2 separate regions of the Homo sapiens genome follow, and region 1 is linked to region 2. The links are contacts of gene promoters, found by promoter capture Hi-C in blood cells and fetal thymus (Javierre and others, 2016). All regions are on one chromosome and are shown on one strand. The core of a region is centred on a gene start or on the middle of the fragment in contact, and the rest is flanking DNA. Distances in the headings are between cores, read along the strand shown. Region 1 overlaps PTBP3 (polypyrimidine tract binding protein 3). Region 2 holds the start of PTBP3 (polypyrimidine tract binding protein 3).

What was found. Contacts are between HindIII fragments. The CHiCAGO score rates a contact against its expected background, and 5 or more counts as called.
Region 1: a contact is called between a fragment that was not itself captured here and the fragment with the promoter of PTBP3 in region 2, in 2 of 17 cell types (megakaryocytes and erythroblasts). The highest score is 6.6, in megakaryocytes.

What each region holds. Positions count from the first base shown.
Region 1 is chr9:112,248,196-112,253,325 of GRCh38, reverse strand. It overlaps PTBP3 (polypyrimidine tract binding protein 3), which reads left to right. Exons shown (of 14, transcript NM_001163788.4): 6 at 538-648; 7 at 2,223-2,397. It also overlaps the pseudogene RNA5SP295. Among named protein-coding and RNA genes, the nearest start is that of SUSD1, 75 kb to the right of the region's middle. The HindIII fragment of the contact is 980 bases long and covers 1,811-2,790 here.
Region 2 is chr9:112,330,815-112,336,233 of GRCh38, reverse strand. PTBP3 (polypyrimidine tract binding protein 3) reads left to right here and starts at 2,615. Exons shown (of 14, transcript NM_001163788.4): 1 at 2,615-2,764. RefSeq lists an enhancer at 1,571-2,541 and silencers at 2,291-2,610, 2,761-3,250. The HindIII fragment of the contact is 11,957 bases long and covers 1-4,034 here.

The sequences.
Region 1 (5,130 bases), core at 1,051-3,550, 83 kb after region 2:
TTTATTTTTATTCGTAAGACTTCTAAAAATCACCAGATATTAGGATATTTGTCATTTGTTTATTGTCTGCATGTGGGCATAGACTTTTGTCTCTGTTTTGTTTACTGCTGTCTTTCCAAATATTTGGTGAATTAATAGAGCAGCCTCTAGTTGAACATCTTCTAGTGGCTACAGAAATCTCAAAAAGTAGATGATTCTTCACAGGGTGAAATAGTTGGTCCATGACTCCCACTTTTATTCATATGCTTTGTAACACATCTCATACCATTGATTATTGTAGTCTCCTATTTTAATACTGTACCATTTATATATCCCATAAAATAGGCTAGTTATTTAAGTGCCTGTTGTGTACCGGGCGTTGTTGTAAGATAGTCATGGGTATTGAAATGTTAATGTTTTAGGCTTAAGTCATTTTGGTACCAAAGTTTTCAAGAGAAAATTTTCATTTAAAAGGATTTATGAACAAGTTGTATTTATAAAGATACATCAGTTTAATACTTTTCTTTTACATTTAACCTAATGTGAACTGTTTTCCAGATATTTTCTAAATTTGGCACAGTCTTGAAGATTATCACCTTTACAAAGAATAATCAGTTTCAAGCCTTGCTTCAGTATGCTGACCCAGTAAATGCACATTATGCCAAAATGGTAATTATGATCTTTGTTTCATTTTTCAATTGTTAATCACTCCAGTGATACCTTCTCTTGTGCCCCACTTTACCATGTGTTTTTAAAAAAATTGTGGCAAAATATACATGTTTACCATTTTAGTCGTTTTAAAGTGTATGATTCCATGTTTTTTTTTTCTAAGCTAAAAATCATTACTACTTCATATGAAACGGTCTCAAATCTCCTATCACCTCTCACATCTCTGAGACGCAGGTCCTGTTTGTCATGTTTAAAGTCTAGAATTGAACACAGTACTCCTCACATAAGCTGACTAATAGAGCCATCATTACCCTCGTGCTTTCATTTACTTCTCCCATCCAAGTACTAACCAGGCCCGACCCTGCTTAACTTCTGAGATCAGATGAGATCAGGTGCATTCAGGGTGGTATGGCTGTAGACCATTTACTTCTGTTAAATCAGTCAGAGATTGATTTCACCATTTTTGCAGCTGTATTCAATGTTTATTCCTGTTGAGCTCTAAATTGGTGGAGATACTAAATCTTAGGAAATATGCTGCTATCAATTCGTGTTGTCTTTTTTTTTTTAGTACACGAAAACCTATTTTGACAAGAATAAAACTTGACATTCAGTTCGATTATCTTAGACATACCTCTTGTTGATATCTATCCCTGACTCTAATTTCATCTTGTAGCAGTTTTTGCTAGTCATTTCTACTTTTTGGTCAAAGATGAGGACTATGGCTTGTGGTACTTTTGTGTACCACACAGTGTCTGGCACTCAATTGGGAGTATAGCCTTTATATTTGCTGTACCCTGAACATGCATATATTATTTTGTACCTTTACGATGGCATACTTGTCAATTACCATTATTATAAATCAGGATATATATATATATGTTTTATTTTTATGTGATTTGCTTTCTGGTATCTATTTTTATAAATTCAAGCATTTGTGAAAGTCGTTAAGTGGCCACAAATACCCTTAGGTAAATTTTTATTCTTGCAAAGGAAGGGGTTGCTAATCTTTGGTTACAACTGACTCCACATTTTCCTCAGTTTATTATTCAAAGTATTACAAAGTAAATTTACAAGAGAAAAAAATAAGTGGTAGGTAATATTTTATGTATTGTGGCTCTGACAAGTACCATTTACAAAAGCTTTGTTTCATCCTAACAAAGCTTACACATCCTAGTATAATGTGAATTATACTAAAATGAATTAAAGTGGAATGTAAAATCAGAGTATCTTAAAACTTTTGATATAGGCAAAATAATCATAATAATAGTGAACATTTCTATGATAGACAGTAGTTTTCCAATCTTTTACATTTCTCCTCTCTTATTTGATCTTACCACAGACAAGATAAATATTATCAGTCTTATTTTACAGATGAAAGCTGAGACTTAGAGATTTTCTTTTTCTCTCTTAGGCTCATAGTTAATGACTGTGAGGTAAAAGTAAACCCAAGACTTTGGCTTTTTAGTCAGTGCTTTCTGCCTTACACCTGATTGCCACTCTTTGTCAAAGTAGAGGCTTCTTGGTTATCAGTGTTGTTGTCTTGCCAAAACCAGTCCCTTTCTTACATGCTTTAGGCTCTGGATGGCCAGAATATCTATAATGCATGCTGCACTCTGCGCATTGACTTCTCCAAGCTCACCAGCCTTAATGTGAAATATAATAATGACAAAAGCAGAGACTTCACTCGCTTAGACCTTCCTACTGGTGATGGCCAGCCATCCCTTGAACCCCCTATGGCTGCTGCTTTTGGTGAGTAGTTCTTTTTTGGGTCACAAAGCAAGTTTTCTGAAGTTACAAGTTTCATTTATTAAGCCATGTATGTTTATAAGCCTTTTTCTTCTCGAGTTCTCTCAGGATTTATAAAGGAAAGCAAGAATCCTAGAACAAAGTATACCCATTAATTAAATATTAATATTAGGAGGTTCTGTTAGTTGACAGATGAATATCTGAAATTGAGTTACAAATTTATTTTCTAACATTGATATTACTCATTCTTTAAAAGCCACAAACCATTTGCTTCAAATTAGTAGTCTTATTAACATTAACTTAAATATGCTAGTTTATAGCCATAATAATTTTGCCATATATGCTCTTGAGAAAAATACTTTTCCTTTTTTAAGTAGTGATATTTTATATCAAGCTTAAATTAATAGTATGATCTTTTATTCAAAGAAGAGGATTTATTTTGTTTTGTTTCCTAAACTTCAGAACTTCCAGCTGTATCTTAAGCTTGTGTGAAGTTGCATTTTGCATTAGTAAAAATACAGCCTTCTAAATTGTCTCTGCAAATTGTAGCTTTGAAGAGCCTCCCTCTTTTATTTAAAGTAAACCTCTTAAGGAAAAAGCAATGGATGGCCCAGTTTGAATATCTTATTAGGTTAGTATATGCTACTTTTGGTTTCACAGTTCTCAAAAGTGTGGTTTATTACTTAAAGTATTACTACCTTTTGTGATTGATTTTTCCTTTTCCAAATAACACCGTAAAATATTGCTAATTGGGACTTTAAGTAGTATTTAGTTCATCATGTTTTATAGGTGAGAAAATTAAAAGAATTAAGACAATCAAATTATAAAATTAAGACAACCAAATGATTGTCCAAACCCTTCTGAAAAATAGTTCATTATTTTAAAGTAAAAGCTTTTTTATTATTTTTAATTTAAAAAGCCAAGGGAATGATTCAATGCATCTTTCTAATATTGATAAAATGTCTGTTTTGGGTTCTTTGACCAAATTTTTGTGTTTTGTATTTGTTACCAGCCCCTAACTTACTTATCTGATTTGGCAGTGACAAAGGTCTTTTGTCATTACCATTTTAATAACAAATGATAGAAATATTTGGTGCAAAAAAAAAAATACTGGGGCAAATTAAAGTTTGCCAAAACTCAGCTATCAAATTTAAGAATTCACTTATTCTAATAATTGATTATATACTCTTGGTGCAATTAATGTTCTGTATTATGAGAGGAGGACATTTTAAAAATATGTTAAGAATTTTGATTTCTGAATATAAAATATCAGAATGTTCATATCCTTTCTCATTAATGTTATTAGTAAATCCTTAGTCACTGCAAAATAATGTCTACATCCTGAAAAAGTGATTCATCAGAGAGAGAACAATGCACTTTATATATTGTGTGAAAGTTTCTCTACTTTGCCTATCACTAGTATTTGACACAGTTTCACTATTCACTTCTTTTTTCTTTTGGCCTCTGAAACACCACTCTCCTTACTTTCTTCCTACTTCACTGGCTGTTCTTTCTCTTTTAAAGGTTTCTCTTTACAGTTTCTAGGGCTGAGTCATAAGCACTATGTCCTTACTTTTAGTGACATTTGTTATACCTATAGAAAAGCTTATAAAACACGTAAGTATATAAACACCCATGTGACTACCACCCAGGTTAAGAAATAAAATATTTATACATACTGAAGAAGCACCCCGTGTACCTTTCTTCATCACTTTTGTTCACTCTCCTTCCCCCAAGATAACCACAGTCCCAAATTTGATAATTATTCTCTTGCTTTTCTGTTTTCCTGTTGTTTTTTTACCACTCATTATATATCCCTAAATGCAACTTAAAAATTTTTTAAAGCATTCAATACTTTAAAGCATTAGAAAAATTTTAAAGCTGTATTTAGAACCTTACATAAATGGACTCATGCTGGTTTTCTTCTGTGACTTTATTTGCCCTGTATGTCTTTGGTGATTCATCCATATTCATACATGTGGCTGTTGCTCATTCATTCTCAGTACGGTCAAGTCTGTAGTATCCCATTGGAAGAATAATAGATCATGGTTTGTTTATCCATTTTATTGTTGATAAATAGTTTGGTTGTTTTAGTTTGATGCTACTATGAACATTCTTTCCTGCTGGACAAGAGTTTTCTCTAAGAAGTACATAGGAAAGGAATTGTTGGGTCATAGAGAACATATTTCTTCAGTTTCATTACATAATGCCAGTTTTCAAAGTGATTGCACCAGTTTATAACTGCATTGTGAGATTAAAATAATTTTTTTAAGCCATCTCCTACTGAAAGGAGTGAGGTTAAAAAAAATTTTATTTTAGTGTGTGGTAAATGGTATCTTAACATAGTTTTCACTTGCATTTTCCTAATTACTAATGAGGTTGGACATATTTTTATTATTTATCCTCTCATACATTTTGTTTTATTTATTTATTTATTACACGAATAAGTTCTTTAGTGGTGATTTCTGAGATTTCGGTGCACCCATCACCCAAGCAGTGTACACTGTACCCAGTGTGTAGTCTTTTACCTCTCGCCCCCATCCCTGTGCAATTCTTTTGTCTGTTTTTGTGTTTTATTTCTCCTTTTTTTCTTACTTAGTTGTAGGAATTCATTATGTATTCCAGATACTAGTCCATTGTTTGTTATATGGGTTGCAAATAGTTTCTCCCAGTTTTGGCTTGTTGATTTATTCTCTTAATGATACTTTTACGTTGTCAAGTTTGTTTCTTATTTCC
Region 2 (5,419 bases), core at 1,366-3,865:
TTGGAAACAACGTAATTTCCACTGTTTTGGAAAAGGTTAAATTATGAAATGAAATTATGAGGCTGGGCATAGTGGTTCATGCCTATAATCCCAGCACTTTGGGAGGCCGAGGTGGGTGGATCACTTGAGGTCAGGAGTTCAAGAGCAGCCTGGCCAACATGGTGAAACTCTGTCTCTACTAAAAATACAAAAATTAGCCAGGCAGGGTGGCAGGTGCCTGTAATCCCAGCTACTCCAGAGGCTGAGGCAGGGGAATTGCTTGAGCCTGGGAGGCAGAGGTTGCAGTGAGCCGAGATTGTGCCACTGCACTCCAGCCTGGAGTCTCACTTTGTCACACAGGGTGGAGTGCAGTGGTGTGATCTCGGCTCACTGCAACCTCTGCTTACCGGGTTGAGATTCTCCTGTCTCAACCTCCTGAGTAGCTGGGATTACAGGCGTGCACCACCAAGCCAGACTAATTTTCCTATTTTTAGTAGAGATGGGGGGTTTCACCATGTTGGCCAGGCTGGCTTCGAACTCCTGACCTTAAGTGATCTGCCCGCCTCGGCCTCCCAAAGTGCTGGGATTACAGGTGTGAGCCACCATGCCCAGCTATAATCCAGGATTTTTAGGTGAAAAAAAAAAAAAAAAAAAAGAAAAATGGTAAAGGTCGCTGGGTGCGGTGGCTCACACCTGTAATCCCAGCACTTTGGGAGGCTGAGGTGGGTGGATCACAAGGTCAGGAGTTCGAGACCAGCCTGACCAACATGGTGAAACCCTGTCTCTACTAAAAACACAAAAACTAGCCAGGCGTGGTGGCGGGCGCCTGTAATCGCAGCTACTCAGGAGGCTGAGGCAGGAGAATCACTTGAACTCGGGAGGCAGAGGTTGCAGTGAGCTCAGATTGTGCCACTGCACTCCAGCCTGGGAGACAGAGCAAGACTCCGTCTCAAAACAAAAAAACAAAAAAACAAAAAAACAAACAACAAAAAAAAGTAAGGTCCAGAAGGATGCACGCAGAATTGTTACAGTGGTAGTCATGGGCAGGGGGTGGTTTGGGAAGAAAAATATTAATGATAACTTTTCAATATTTTATAGTGCTTGAATTTTCCAAAATGAGCATTTATGCTGATATTACTTGTGTAGCTAAAAAAAGGGTTAAGGAAATTTCATCAACAGAATATATCCCAAATACAGTGATAGAAAGACTGCATCAGCTACTTATCTTGTTGATATTCTACATTTCCATCTGGCAATGTTTACAAATGCAACTTAATATTTAGATTTAATATACAAAACAAAATGTATTTGACATTTTGGAAGGGGACTGAGGTTAGATACAGGACTTTAAGAATTACCTCACCGAATTACTCTACCTATTTGAAAAGTTGTATGTCAAAAATATACATAAACGGACTGAAGAATCCATTCAACAGTGACGGCTGGAACCTGATTTTCTTGTGTATTCATGCAGTGCCCGGCACATAGTAGGTTAATACTGACTGAATGATGAATGAGTCCACAGTTTAGATCTTTTTAGCAGCACCTACTGATCTGAAAGCAGGAAATTAGCAAGGATAGATGTTTGAGGTTCTTGTTAGTTGCTTTTCAAATGACGAAGCCACGGGGAGGAGCCCCGCTCTTTTTTACTCAGTAGGTTAAGAATTTGGCTTAACAGTTTAGGGGGTTACATTTTGGTGATCTGTGAGTTGAAAAAGTACTCAATTTCTCACTAAAAAGGGAAAAAAGCAAGCGTGTTGTCACTCGTTATATTATATATATACTTTTTGCTCAGACCAGAGGGAAGGGCTCTGGTGCAAACGTTTCCTGGTTGTGAAACTGTGAGCAAATCACTCTCTTTGTATATGTATTTTCATCTGAAAAAAGGGAATAATGAGTAAACTTTTAAAAAATGCTGGGAATATAGCCATTCCATGTTTGTACAATGAATTTTTCATATAAATTCAATACTAGACGGTTAGGTCGAAATGCACTCAGATACTTAAATTGTATACAAATTCCAGTCCGGGCAGCCTCTTTCACCTCATTCATCGTCCCAGCCACACCTATGGGGCTGGTGTCGGTCCCAGCGGTCGACTCCAGCGCCGGGCTGCCAGAGGCTGGTCCCTGGACGTGTCATCTACAGCCTCGCGCACCCGGGGCAATTCCACCTCGTTTCTGGGGTCCTTGTGGGACATTCCTTCCTACTCTTGGGAGTCAGGTCCCCATAGCTTTTCCTGCCGGCAGAGGGAGGCATTCAAACCTGGCAGGCCCGGTCTGCGAAGCCGGAAGGCCCGCGGGGCCGCGGGAGGGCGGGCGGGGTGCGCGGCGGAGCGGGAAGCACAAGGCGCGCGCTCCCGCGAACGCAGGAGGGAGGCTGGGGGCGCGCGCGCGCGCCGGGCCGAGGGGCCGAGAGGCGGGGTCTTACAGCGACCGCGGGAAGAGGGCGCCCCAGAGCTGAGCCGGAGGCCGGCTGCCAGCGGGGCGAGGGTGGGCGCGAGCGCAGGGGCGGGCCCCGAGGGAGGGCGGGGACGGTGAGGGGGCGGGGTCGGGCTAGGCGGGGACGCGCTCGCGGGGTGGGGAAGGCGGGGGCGCGGCGGTGGCGGGAGCGTGCCCGGTCCCCGCCCCTGTTCCCACTCTCCTTCCACCTCGGACCGGCCGGGGCTCCGCAGAGCCAAAGCTCGCTTGTCCCCGGAACCGCCCTGCTGCCGCCGCCTGCTTCCTCTGCTCGCGGTTAGCCCGTCAGTCCCTGCTCTGTGCGCGCCTCCATCTGGGCCATGGATGGGTAAGTACTAGGCGGCGCGGCGGCCGCACCGGGTTGCCTTGGCGCCGCTTCCACCCGGCTCTCCGCGGGACGCGTAAGGGCTGGGGAGCAGTGCGCGGCGCCGGCGGCCGGAGGAGCGGCCCCGGCCAAGCCCGACGGCGGGGCTTCCGGGCGTCTCGGTGGGGATCCCGGAATCGCGGAGTTGCCGTCCGCCGCAGGCTCTCCTTTCCCCACGCGGCGCCCCGGACACGTCCGCTGCTTCCTAGCCTTACTCGACACACCCGGGAGCAGAGGAAAGCCCGGTCCGGCCGCGGTGCCGAGGTCCGCCCTCCGCGCCCCGAGTCCGGGGAGCCCAGCTCGGCCTCCCGACACTTCCTCTCAGAAAATGGTGCGCGGCGCTGGGGGAGGCGGAGGCGGCGCGCGGGGCGGGCGTCCTCCTGCCGGGGGAGTTGCTGTTTACCGGCGAGGTGGGGCGAGCGGCCGACGGCGGGTGCACGCGTCGGTACACGTCTGGGCGGCGACCTGGTCGCAAGCCATGGTCCCACGCGGGGTCCCAGGGCCGCCGCGGGACTTGGCCGAGGTCTCCCGACTTGTGCTGTGAGATACGTTAACGCTTTCTCGACACCAGGGGTCTGGACTTAGTGACCATGGACGCTTCCCCCTCACCTTTCTCTCTCCCCAAGAAACTTAATGAATTATCTGCCCGTGTATGTAAAATATGATGTACGAGCGATTTTCGGGGGCATTTCAAATGCTCAAAAATTTAATGGGGGTCCGTGACCAAAATAAAAAGATTTAGAGTCTATGTATATAAACTGTTCTCTGGGGACTCAGGGATATGGGGTGGGACTTGACATATTTTGGTAATTAAAGTAACAACTATGTTAGGATTTTGGTGAATTAATTGAAGGTTGTAGTATCTGTACCTACGGATTAAAAAAAAATCTCCAACTCGGTTTATTCCCATTATGTATTTGAGGTTTTTTTTAGCTTGTTACCTACTTTTGATGACAAGATTTCTGTGAGGTTGTGGAATATATGCAACTTGCTAGAACAGTAAAAGTCGTTCACATGTTGCCATACAGTTGATGATATGCTATTTGAAGATGAAATCTTCCAACAGCTTTTGACCTCATTAGATTTCATTTATTTTAGTTTCACAATATTAAGTGTATATGACATTTCGGATTGATTCATTTGAATGCAGATTGCACACTGCTACAGACATCAAAGTGGAGTTTTAGATTTTATTCATGATTGTGATGTTCTTTATTTTTATTTGATTGAAGCTTCAAAAAATTTCTTAAAATTATAACTTTTTTGGGTACACAGTAGGTGTATATATTTTGGGGGGGAATTGAAGCTGTTTTTATTGTTTGATTGAAGTTTCTTCGAGAACATTGTTGAAAACTTATTTCACATTACCTTATTCAGTTGCATTTTATATGTTGAAAAATTTTGTGGTCGTAAAGATTTGTGTCACTAATATTTTGGTTCAGGCAGGCTGTGAATTTAGCATTTCATTATGTGTAGTTAATTGTCTGGAAGGTTTGACTTAAATAATGGAAGCAGGCTATTTTTTTGTGTCGTAAAATGTATAGTTATAATAAAGAGGACTCTTGAATTTTGCGTCTTTGCTGTTAAACTGTAGGATAACTGTGAAGTGCAAACTTACTTTTTGATAGTGTTTAAGAAGTTTACTCTCCCTTCACGCTATTTGTGGTTTTAAAGGTAGTAATGGGTTTATTGGTTTGAATATGCAAGGCAGTTATACAGATACTGACTGGAAGGTAAGTTCATTTGGAAGTTCAAGTCGGAGCATGATTTGCCCTTTGTATCAGAACCAATAACCATAGTGTTACACCATTTTATTTTTTATGCAGCAAGCGTCCAGTTACTTATCACATTTAAATTTTAGACAAATGAATTTCAAGTTTCAGAAGTTTACAAGGAAAAATAAAAAATCTACGTGGTATTTTAAAAACAGTTTACATCATCTAGAGTCATTTATTCGTTGACTTTTATGAGGTAATGATGACATAGGTTATTAACAATATGTAGAATGTATTCGTAGCTTTCTTCTAGGAGATATGAAGAAAAACATTAATCGAAGACAGTTTCTTGGGGCTTAGAAGAGAAGAATTTTTGTATGGCAGGACTTTAAAGGGGATTTTCACACCCTGGTCTTAAGGGATGTGGTTTAAGAATACAGTGCATTTTTGCCTTCAGGAGACTAATTAAATTTCTACATTTTCCAACAGCCTGAAAAAGATCCTTTTTCCTTATTTGGGTAGTTAAAAAACAAACCACAAGCCACCAGTCAACATATCTTTCTAGTTCCTCCTCAAATCCCAACTGTCTCTCGTGTGTGTGTGTGTGTGTGTGTGTGTGTGTGTGTGTGTGTGTGTTCGTTTCCTCCTAAGAGATAATTTATACTTAAACACAGTTTTGACGTGATAGAATATTTTTAAAAAGCAAATCTTTGAAAATTTTGATGTCTGAAATGTGATGTTTGTATTTATTTTAGTTCTGAGAGACTGTCTTAACTATATTTTGGTGAGCAATTTTGGGTGGTAAATGCAGATTTGCAAGATGCCTTCTATTTCTGTAAAATCCAAGCACTGGTTTTGTTTCATTTAAAACCTCAGACACGATTATTCATGCCAGTGACTTAAA